Regions from separate parts of the Homo sapiens genome. Here region 2 is linked to region 1. The links are contacts of gene promoters, found by promoter capture Hi-C in human tissues and cell types (Jung and others, 2019). All regions are on one chromosome and are shown on one strand. Each heading gives the region's core, a stretch centred on a gene start or on the middle of the fragment in contact. The rest is flanking DNA. Distances are from core to core; before and after follow the strand shown. Region 1 holds the start of SLC38A2 (solute carrier family 38 member 2). Region 2 holds the start of RAPGEF3 (Rap guanine nucleotide exchange factor 3).

What was found. Contacts are between HindIII fragments. The study calls those that stand out against the background at their distance.
Region 2: the fragment with the promoter of RAPGEF3 here is called in contact with the fragment with the promoter of SLC38A2 in region 1 in 1 of the 25 tissues and cell types used here (hippocampus).

What each region holds. Positions count from the first base shown.
Region 1 is chr12:46,371,002-46,375,346 of GRCh38, forward strand. SLC38A2 (solute carrier family 38 member 2) reads right to left here and starts at 1,772. Exons shown (of 16, transcript NM_018976.5): 1 at 1,508-1,772; 2 at 177-378. The coding sequence starts at 292. It overlaps SLC38A2-AS1 (SLC38A2 antisense RNA 1), which reads left to right and starts at 1,782. Exons shown (of 2, transcript NR_187299.1): 1 at 1,782-1,861; 2 at 2,312-2,777. RefSeq lists enhancers at 702-851, 932-1,261, 951-1,654, 1,512-1,591, 2,272-2,331 and silencers at 1,282-1,481, 1,682-2,021. The HindIII fragment of the contact is 23,415 bases long and covers 1-4,345 here.
Region 2 is chr12:47,755,608-47,760,189 of GRCh38, forward strand. It overlaps RAPGEF3 (Rap guanine nucleotide exchange factor 3), which reads right to left and starts at 3,273. Exons shown (of 28, transcript NM_001098531.4): 1 at 2,944-3,273; 2 at 2,259-2,471. The coding sequence starts at 2,949. It also overlaps a transcript of SLC48A1 not described here. RefSeq lists enhancers at 1-170, 201-270, 2,484-3,152, 3,153-3,821 and a silencer at 3,093-3,442. The HindIII fragment of the contact is 24,154 bases long and covers 1-3,316 here.

The DNA.
Region 1 (4,345 bases), core at 522-3,021:
TGACTTTCACACCAGCTATCTTGTCATTACAACAAGATAATCGGATACTCTTTCAGAGATTACGCACCTTCTCTAAATGCTATAGCAAATTAAAGCAATGGAAGCAGAGTCCTAGGTAACTCCCTGAACCCAACCCATGCAAGCCGTTTTTTCAAAAGTGTCACAACTTCTCCCACCTTTTCAGAGCAGCTTGCTTGGTGGGGTAGGAGTAGTTGAAGTCGCTGTTGGAACTGTAGCTGCTGCTGTCTTCATCCGGGGAAATACTGAATCGTCCCATTTCGGCCTTCTTCATGCTAAGCACTGGGAGGAATCGGGTGCAGCTAGTAGCGCTGGGCTCCTTTTGTCCTTGGCGGTGGGTGCAGCGGCCCGCGAGTCGGCCTGCGAAAGTAGAGGCGGCGCGTCAGGACCGCAGCGCCAGCCCGCCGCGGTCACGTGACGCCGCCCGGAGGCGCAGCGCGGCTGATTCATCCCAGGCCAGGCGAGTGGAAAAGTACCAGCCGCGCGCGAGGGGCGGGGGCGCGCCGAGGGGCGGAAAAGTACAGACGGCGGAGCCGCGGGGAGAACAAAGATGATGCCACCGCTGTGTTGCGGCCGTCGAGGCCCCCTACTCCGGCAGATTTCAGTATTTCACCCTCTCTATTGTCCCTCGTCGGAGTGGAGGGGGCGAGGGGGGGTTCTGTTTTGCTTTTTCCCAGTCGCTCCAAACTTGCACAGGCACTCAGGGCACACATCCAGCCCCGACCCTGGCTCGTGTGCATGCAACCTAGGCGCACGGCTTTCCGTTTCTAGCATTTGGAACAGCAATGCTGCGTAATCTGTCCTTTACTGCCCGGAGTCCCCACACGGAGAAATGCCTCTGCCGCAGACAGCCTTCCCCAGGAGGCGGAAAGGGCCGACACTACTCCTCTCTCGAGGGGGGCGAACGCCCGGGCCCCGGGAGCTGGGGGTTTGTTTACACACGCGCGCCAGTGCCCTCAAGCACACCCGTCCACAGGCAGCTGGCCCGCGAGTGCTACGCCCGCCCAGCCCCTCCTATGTCCGGAAAGAAAACTGATGCAATATCGATCGTCGATTGTCAAATGTTCCCAACTCGTCTTCCCCAATCTTGGCCTCTCCTGTAATACATGCCCAAGCCCACCTCCGCCGCCCCCAGATTCCTGGCTCCCTGGACTTAATTTTTTTTTTTTATTAAATGCAAATCAGTCACAAGACTTGCCGCAGCAGAGCCGCTGGCCGGGCTAGCTCCCCTCCCCCTAATGGGAAGATGCGGCTCCGCACCGTGCAGGCACGCGGCCCCCGCCCAGCGCCCGCTCTCCTACCCACGTCGCGGGCGCGACACCCGCGCGGCGGGCCAGGGTGGAAGGCTGGCCAGCCCAACCGACAACGCCCGCCTCGAAAGGAAACGGACCCCGCGGCCGCCTTCCCGCGCGGCCCCTCCCGGAAGCCCCTCCCCCACTCTCGCCCGGGCCCCGCGCCCTTCCCACAGACGCCCCCCCGCACGCGTTACCTCGGTGGTCTCTATTCTCACGCAGACGTCTTCAGTGGGTTTCTCTCAGTCAAATACAAATCATAAAAAACAAACAAAAAATTTCCCCAAATCCAACAACAGGCAGGAAAAATAATTTTAATAAAAAAGGAAAAGACAAATTGCCGCCCCAATCCTCCGGCGTCCGCCGTGTCAAGGGAAAGGCGCGAGCGTGCGGTAACGCGTGGTCGGGCTGCTGCTAGCAGTACTGGAAAGGCGTTCTAAGGCGGCGGCGTCGCGCGGCTGTGGAGCAGCCCTGCGAGCGGCGGGTTATAGCGGCACCCCGGGGACGCGTCAGTGGGCGGGACCGCGGCCGCCCGGGCGCCTTCTCTTTGTGTATCAACACCACCTGGGCCCCGCCTCCGACCCGCCCAGACCTAGGCCCCGCCTCCCTGCCCCTCCCTCTGCGGCCCGCGCCCGCGGCCCAGCCCCGCCCGCAGGCGCCCCCAAGACTCTCCCGCAAAGCCCAAGCCCACTCTCTCCAGCTTTCTAGATAGTCTGGAAAGACCCCCAGATGCTTCCCCTGCCTATCCTTTTCAGCCAGGGTTGGTGCTCAACACATGCGGTTGTCTTTGAGGAGCCATCTCCTTAAAATTTTCTCCTGTCCGAGTCACCAGCAGTCCTTGCTTTCGGGGGACACATCAAGGCTTTTGGGGGACACCACCCTCCCACCAAACACTTTCTTGATTGTTATTTTTGTGATTTACAGTGAAGTTTTGTCTCACAAACTTGGGCCAAGGCAGCAAGGTTGTCCTGATGGTTTGTTGTTCTTTCTTTTCCACCTAGACCTGCTTTCACTCTTCAAAACTAGCCGGAGGTCGGCGAGCAGCTCCTTTTCGGGATGTGCTTTTTGTACGGCCATGGAAACTGGACTAGCGGAAAGGCTACCTTTTGGCCAGCAAGCCAGGCCCCTTAGAAAGAGGCCCCAGTGGGGAGCCCGGCGCTCCTAAGGCCGTTTGGGAGTCCCCAGTTTTCCACTCGCTGACACGTTGCTTCTCTTATCCCACCACCGCCGCCCCGGGCAAAGGCACTGCCTTGTCTGAATGCGGGTCTGAGGCGCTTTCTGCGGAGCCTGGTCCTTTCCCTTCAATGGTGATGTGTGTGGTCTTGCTGAGCCAGGCAACTAGGGGGACCCTTCGCTGTGGAAAAATTGGTGCTGCGGGAAAGGCAAGACTCACTCCCTTGCAGGAAACAAAGACCCCTTAGGAGAGAGAAATGTTCATGGAATGAATGAATAAACAAGTTTGACCTACTGCTCTCTTCCTTTTGGGGACTTGGGAGAAATTGGGCAGGGCATAGAGGAAAGGGCTGGGTGTGATCGCAGTTTTTGCTTTCAATGTTTTACTGAGGAAATCCGTACAACTGCCTATTTCCGCCGCACGTGAGGCTTCGGGTGCCCTCGCCTGCACCAGTGTTTATGATTGACAAGCGAGGTCCCGATTTCCCCCATCACACTCCTGTGTTCCCTACCCCAAACCTTCTACTCTGTTCAGGCCAGTCTTCCCTACCGCAAACCTTCTACTCTGTTCAGGCCAGTCTTAAATAATAGCCATTCTTGCTTTGGTGTCCAATCTCCTCTCATCCCCTTAAATGCCGCTGTCATGCAAGGCTTAGTCTTCGAGCCACAGGAAAGCGCCCCGCATGCCTTAATCCCTCCGTACTCAGCCCTCTTTTTGCAGGTACTATTTTCTAAAACAATATGGTGACGGACTTTTAAAAATCCGTGCTGTCATGCACTCAAAATCGTTCCAGACTATTTGTAGTATCATCTGCCCAAAGATTGTGAACTCCCCAAGGGCAGGTTTGGAATTTGACACACAATTAGGGCTGAAAAAACTATCTTCCTTCCACATACATTCCCCAATAAAATCAATCAACTCTTCTTGTCACAACAATCTTGGTAGTGGTAGGTTAGAGAGGAGTCCCAGGAAGTTTCTTTATATTAGGTTTCAACTGATAACAATCAAAAGGTCTTAAACCACTTTTTCATTCCAGATGAATCTCTGGTCGTTTCCTCTGCCCAGTTAGAGGTGCTAAGGAGGCCCTCAGGGTTGGTAGTTATGGGTGGCAAGTGGCACTATAAGTAAATCTCATGTCTTTTGGACTTTTTGGTGGTTTGTATTGCAACACATATTTAGGAGAAGCACAATACCTGTACAGCTGAGGGCAAAGTGGAGGGCAGGGGCGGGGGGGGGAGCTGCAATATTGATCTGGTCTCTGTATGATCAGAACTTGAACAGTAAATGACAAAAAAAGAAGGGTGGAGGGGTGAAACTTCCATGTTTTTATTGCCAGTTTGATTGGTCTTTTCGAGGGCCAAACTGAGGCATGCCTGCTAACTCCATCAGACTTCCAACTGAGGCCTGATGTGCTCTGAGCAATTGCTGTTATGCTTTGGGCTTGAATGCATTGGACACAGTGTCCTCATTCAATTTCTGGGAAACGATATTGCCAAATACCTATTGGTCAGTGCGCTATAATTTTGTTTGATTTCTAAGCTAATGTTCTAGAAGAGCAGCATTTTTTAAACTTTCAGAATGGGACCAAGTGGTGGATAGTGATGAATTCAGTGGATTAGTACTAGCTTTCTATTTTCTTCAATGCAGTAGAATAGAATAATTTTTTTTAAAAAATCAGTATGCCATATGTACTATTATTCTGTAAATCTTTTATCTTGATTATGTGTATATATATGTGTGTATATATGTATACATATGTATACATATATGTGATTATGTGTGTCTGTATATATATGTGTGTGTGTATTATGAGTTGTGATGTAAAACAGGGGTCCCCAACCCCTGGGCAGCAGACTGGTAC
Region 2 (4,582 bases), core at 2,023-4,522, 1.4 Mb after region 1:
CTTTTGCAATAGCTGTTAAGTCTTATCTTAGTCTGTATCTAACTGCAAGCCCTCCTACTGTAACCCGCTTTCATTTTCTCTTGTCCTGGTCTAGGTAGGAACAGAAAGAGCTGTCTTCAGACTTCTTCTCTGGGAGGTTGATGGGTTTTCCCCTTGGCTTTCGAAGAGGGAGGTCTGGCCTCAATAACTGGCAGTGCTGTCTTCCTGGGACTCGGGCTCCACCCCTTCACCATGGGCGTGCATGCTCACAGCTGGCACTCATTCCCTCACGGAAGCCTTCCCTGGGCTAAAGGCATCATCAAGAGGTAAGAAGTACAGCTTCACAGGTACCCAGAGCCTCTCAAATATAGGCATGATGGAATGAAACCTCCCCACCCCAGTCCCCAAAGTTGGTCATCAGAAGAGGGAGTGGCCGCCTGCCTCTAAACACTAAAAATCTAAGTTCCCTCTAGTCACCAACGCCCACCTGGCACGGAAAGGCCTTGTTTTGGTGCCTTTGACCCCATTTACACTCCAGCAACCTTTACCCCCACCTTTCTGGCCTTCCCCTGCACACCAGCCCTTCATTTCTGGGGGCTGTGGAGAGTCAGGAGACAGCTTGGTGGCCTCCTCCACTCCCTCCCAGACTTCAGGTCCCAGGAGATCCTCCAGTGACCTATTGTCCTGGCACCTGACCTTCTCCCTACCCCCTACCTTGCTTCCACAAGCTGGGAAGGGGACAGGAAATGCACAAATAATTATAGCCCAAGAGGGAAGGAGGGAGGGAGGGTTCCAGCCCACTGGCTCCAGGCAATAGCTACAGCCAGTGACCCGGAGAGCGGAGAGCCGGAGAGCCAGAGGGGTAGCGGAGGAGGACCCAGGCTCATGATAAGGAAGACCCTAGTAGAGAACAGCTCTACCAGGACTGACATGTGGACTCTCCTCTCAATTCTGATTGCAAAGAGGAGCCCCTCATCTTGGTAGGTCTCAGTTTTTTCAACTCAGCCTCACTGTAAATGGCAGTTGGGCAAGGTAGGGGGAAGGAGGGAGAGGGTGGTGGTTATTCCACTCAAAAGGACTTGCCAATAAGAAGTGAACTCTCGGCTAGGCGCAATGGCTCATGCTTGTAATCCCAGTGCTTTGGGAGGGCGAGGTGGGCAGATCACGAGGTCAAGCGATCAAGACCATCCTGGCCAATATGGTGAAACCCCATCTCTACTAAAAATACAAAAATTAGCTGGGCGTGGTGGCGCACACCTGTAGCCCCAGCTACTCAGGAAGCTGAGGCAGGAGAATCACTTGAACCTGGGAGGCAGAGGCTGTAGTGAGCCAAGATTGCTTCACTGCACTCCAGCCTGGTGACAGAGGAAGACTCTGGTTAAAAAAAAAAAAAAGAAAGAAAAGAAAAAAGAAATGAACTCTCCCGGCCAAGCGCAGTGGGTCACGCCTGTAATACCAGCACTTTGGGAGGCCAAGGCAGGTGGATTGCTTGGGCCTAGGAGTTCAAGACCTACCTAGGCAACATAGCGAAACCTGGGTGGACACACGCAGTGGAGACATAACTGAATCTCAAGCTAAGCTACTCTATTTAGTCTGGATGGTTGGGGATAGCTTCTCTGCTGATTTGGATAGTACAGCCATTATCTTGCCTCCCAAATCCCACCATTCTTTCCCCTCCCTGCTCTCTCCTTCATTCTTTCAGGTCCAGAGATGTTTCTCACTAGCAAAGGGCACTTTGGTGATCTCAGATTCTCCAAATGTCTCAGAATCCTTCCCTGAGCCCCCCAAAGGCAGGTACCAAGCAGTGTCCACATGATCACCTCACCCTAAGACCAAAACGCAGAATTAGCACAGTTCAGTAACTCACTAAAGGAGAATGTTGCCACGGTGATGCACCCAGAACTGTAACCAAGCTTACCTCACTCCAACCCATTGACCCGGCCCCCATACCTCCCACCTCCACCTGGAAAGAACACACAAGTACCTAACTCAATGCCGGCTCACTGAGGTGACAGATAAACAACAAATCCCTTTCCCCTTCCCCCCATGCCCAAACAGAGACATTTGGGCAGAACACACACACAGACACACACACGTTGCAGCTGTGTGAGCCACCCACGCACACTGCAGACAAGCTTCCTGACCCAGTGTCCACGGCAGCTGTACCACTGTACACCCCCAGAGCAAGCTGGGCCACCAGCAGCATGCCAAGCCATGATCTAGGCCCCCCTCTAGCTCTGGTACTGGCCCTGGCACCTGGGCAGGTGAAAGGTACTCACCCAGCGCAGCCCCTGGATGCAGCTCGGACGCTGGTGCTCCAGCAGCAGCTGGTAGGAGCAGCTTCGGGGCCGGTGCATCCTTCTCAACACCATGTTGAGTAGTGTCCCCTCCGGCACCACGTCAGGGAGGGCTCCCACCCGCGGTGCTCCCAGAGCTGGGCTATCCTCCACAGCCAGGCCCACCTGCCAGCAGCTCTCACCTGGCCAGCCCACCTGTGACACGGGGAGGAAAGTGGACAGCCATGGGACACGACTGGGGCGGCTGGGCCACAGTACAACTGCCCCAGGCAGAACTACTTCCTTAGAGTCCTCTGGACTGGTCAGGCGGAGGTGCTGCAACCCTGCCAGGAGCTGGGGGGAGGAACAGGAAGACCTTCACTGGGGCCTGCCGGTCTGGCGCACTTAGGGGTCTCCAGCTGGCTCTTGGAAAAGATCAGGCCCTTCTTAGTCCTCTTTGGAATTCTGTCCCATCTCACTGCCCATGCCCCTGCAGGGATCTCCACTACCTCCCAGTATGAAGCTATAGATTCACTAGGTCTCCCAGAAATGCAGCTTCGGCTTAAACCCTTCTCCTCTCCTCCTCAGCCCTGACTAACCCTCCCTCTCCCACCCAAACTCCCCACCGTGTCAGCTTCCTCTCCCGCCCTCTCCTGCTCCTCCTCAACCCTGACCCCACCTTACCCACCTTCATGTTTCTTTTCAAGCTCGCACAGCCGTGCAGGCTCTAGCAAAAGGCTGGGGGGTCCCCAGCGACCCCCATCAGCTTTGATAAGGGGATCCGGAGGGTGCCAGTGGGTAAGTCCAGGTACAGTGAACTGGGCCAGTGCCTAGCTGGACTGGCTGCCAGGGCAGCAGGATGCAGGGCTCGGTGGAGAGGCTCCTCTTGGGTGAGTAGAGGGGTGGGGGCGTGGTGGGGGGACGCCACCCAGCCACCGGCGACAGGGAGCCCCGAGCCTGCGCCTTCGTCTCAGACGAAGGAGCCAGCTGGCACCGGGCGCTGAAGCAAGGCTGCGCTGGCACCGGTCCGGGCGGGAGCTGTCACACCCCCTGCGCTGCCCGCCCCCTTCCCCTCCCCAGGACTGGCGGAGGGGGCGGGGTGGAGGCGCCCTGCCTTACGGTAGAGGAATGCGTAGGGGAAGGGGGCCGGCACTGGCAGGCTTTGGAGTCCGCACCCGGGGGTACCAGAGTGGACATCCGCCTGAGCCCAGAGTATCCCCAGGGGGCAGGAGCGGCCCCGAAGTGTGTGGAGGAGGCCGCAACGGCCGGGGTGTCAGGGATCCGGCGGTGAGTGGCTGCACTGGCCGCCACGTGGCCGGGAGGAGAAATGCAAACAAGGAAACCGGGGAGAGCGGGGAGGGGGTGAGTCACTGCGGCCTCACCCGGGAGGGAAATCCGGGCTGGGGCCGCTTCCCGGCTGGGGGTGTCTGCCTCCTGTTTCGGTTCAGGGTCTCCAGCCGCCCGGGGGAGGGAATAGGCGGCTTTCCCGCGGGGAATCCCGCTGCCTTGCCTCCCACAGTTCCGTTCCCAGACCCACGCCCCACTGCCCCCTGCCCCAGCACACACACACCGGGAGCAGTTGAGGAAACTGAGGCTGGAGAGGAAGGACTGCTCTCCAGAACGGGTAGGGGCCCTAAGAGGAGATTGGGGTTGTGGCAGAGCTTCCAGGGGAGCAGAAGGTGTTCGAGTACCACGCCCCCTACCGCGCGCTCCCTGGTGGCCGGGTAGGTTGAGGCGGAGACCGGGCATTCCAGCGCCCTGCTAGGCAGGCTTGCTACCGAGGCTCCACGCCTCCCTGGGCCTCAGTTTCCACCACTGTGCAAATGGCCCAGCGCGGGCCTCTTCGCCCCACTCCTGAGAGGGTGGAGAGACAGTGGCCGGGGACAGCGACCCGTAATTCAGGACGATAATGAGGGTTTGGAAGGAGGTGAACGCCCCACCCCCAGCTTTTTAGGACTTTTTGCCCCTTCTCTTCCCTTTTCCCTTTGCTGTTGAGCCAGCCCAGACTGGGAAGAAGTATCTCTAAAAAGCCTATACCCCAATTTTGGGATGCCAAGCCCGCATCCTCCACCATGATTATTTTCTTGAAAGTGAGGAGAAGACTGGGAAGAGGTAGCTCTAAGAAGCCTATACTCCCAATTTTGGGATGCCAAGCCCCCATCCTCCACCAATTATTATTTTCTTGAAAGTGGGGAGAGAAATTTTAATTGTGATTAAAATCCCATTTTTAATGTATACATGTATAAAAAATGTTTCCCAGAAGCTTACTAAAATGCAGGCTCCGTCCCCAGCAATTCATATTCAATCCTATTGGCATGAAATGGAAA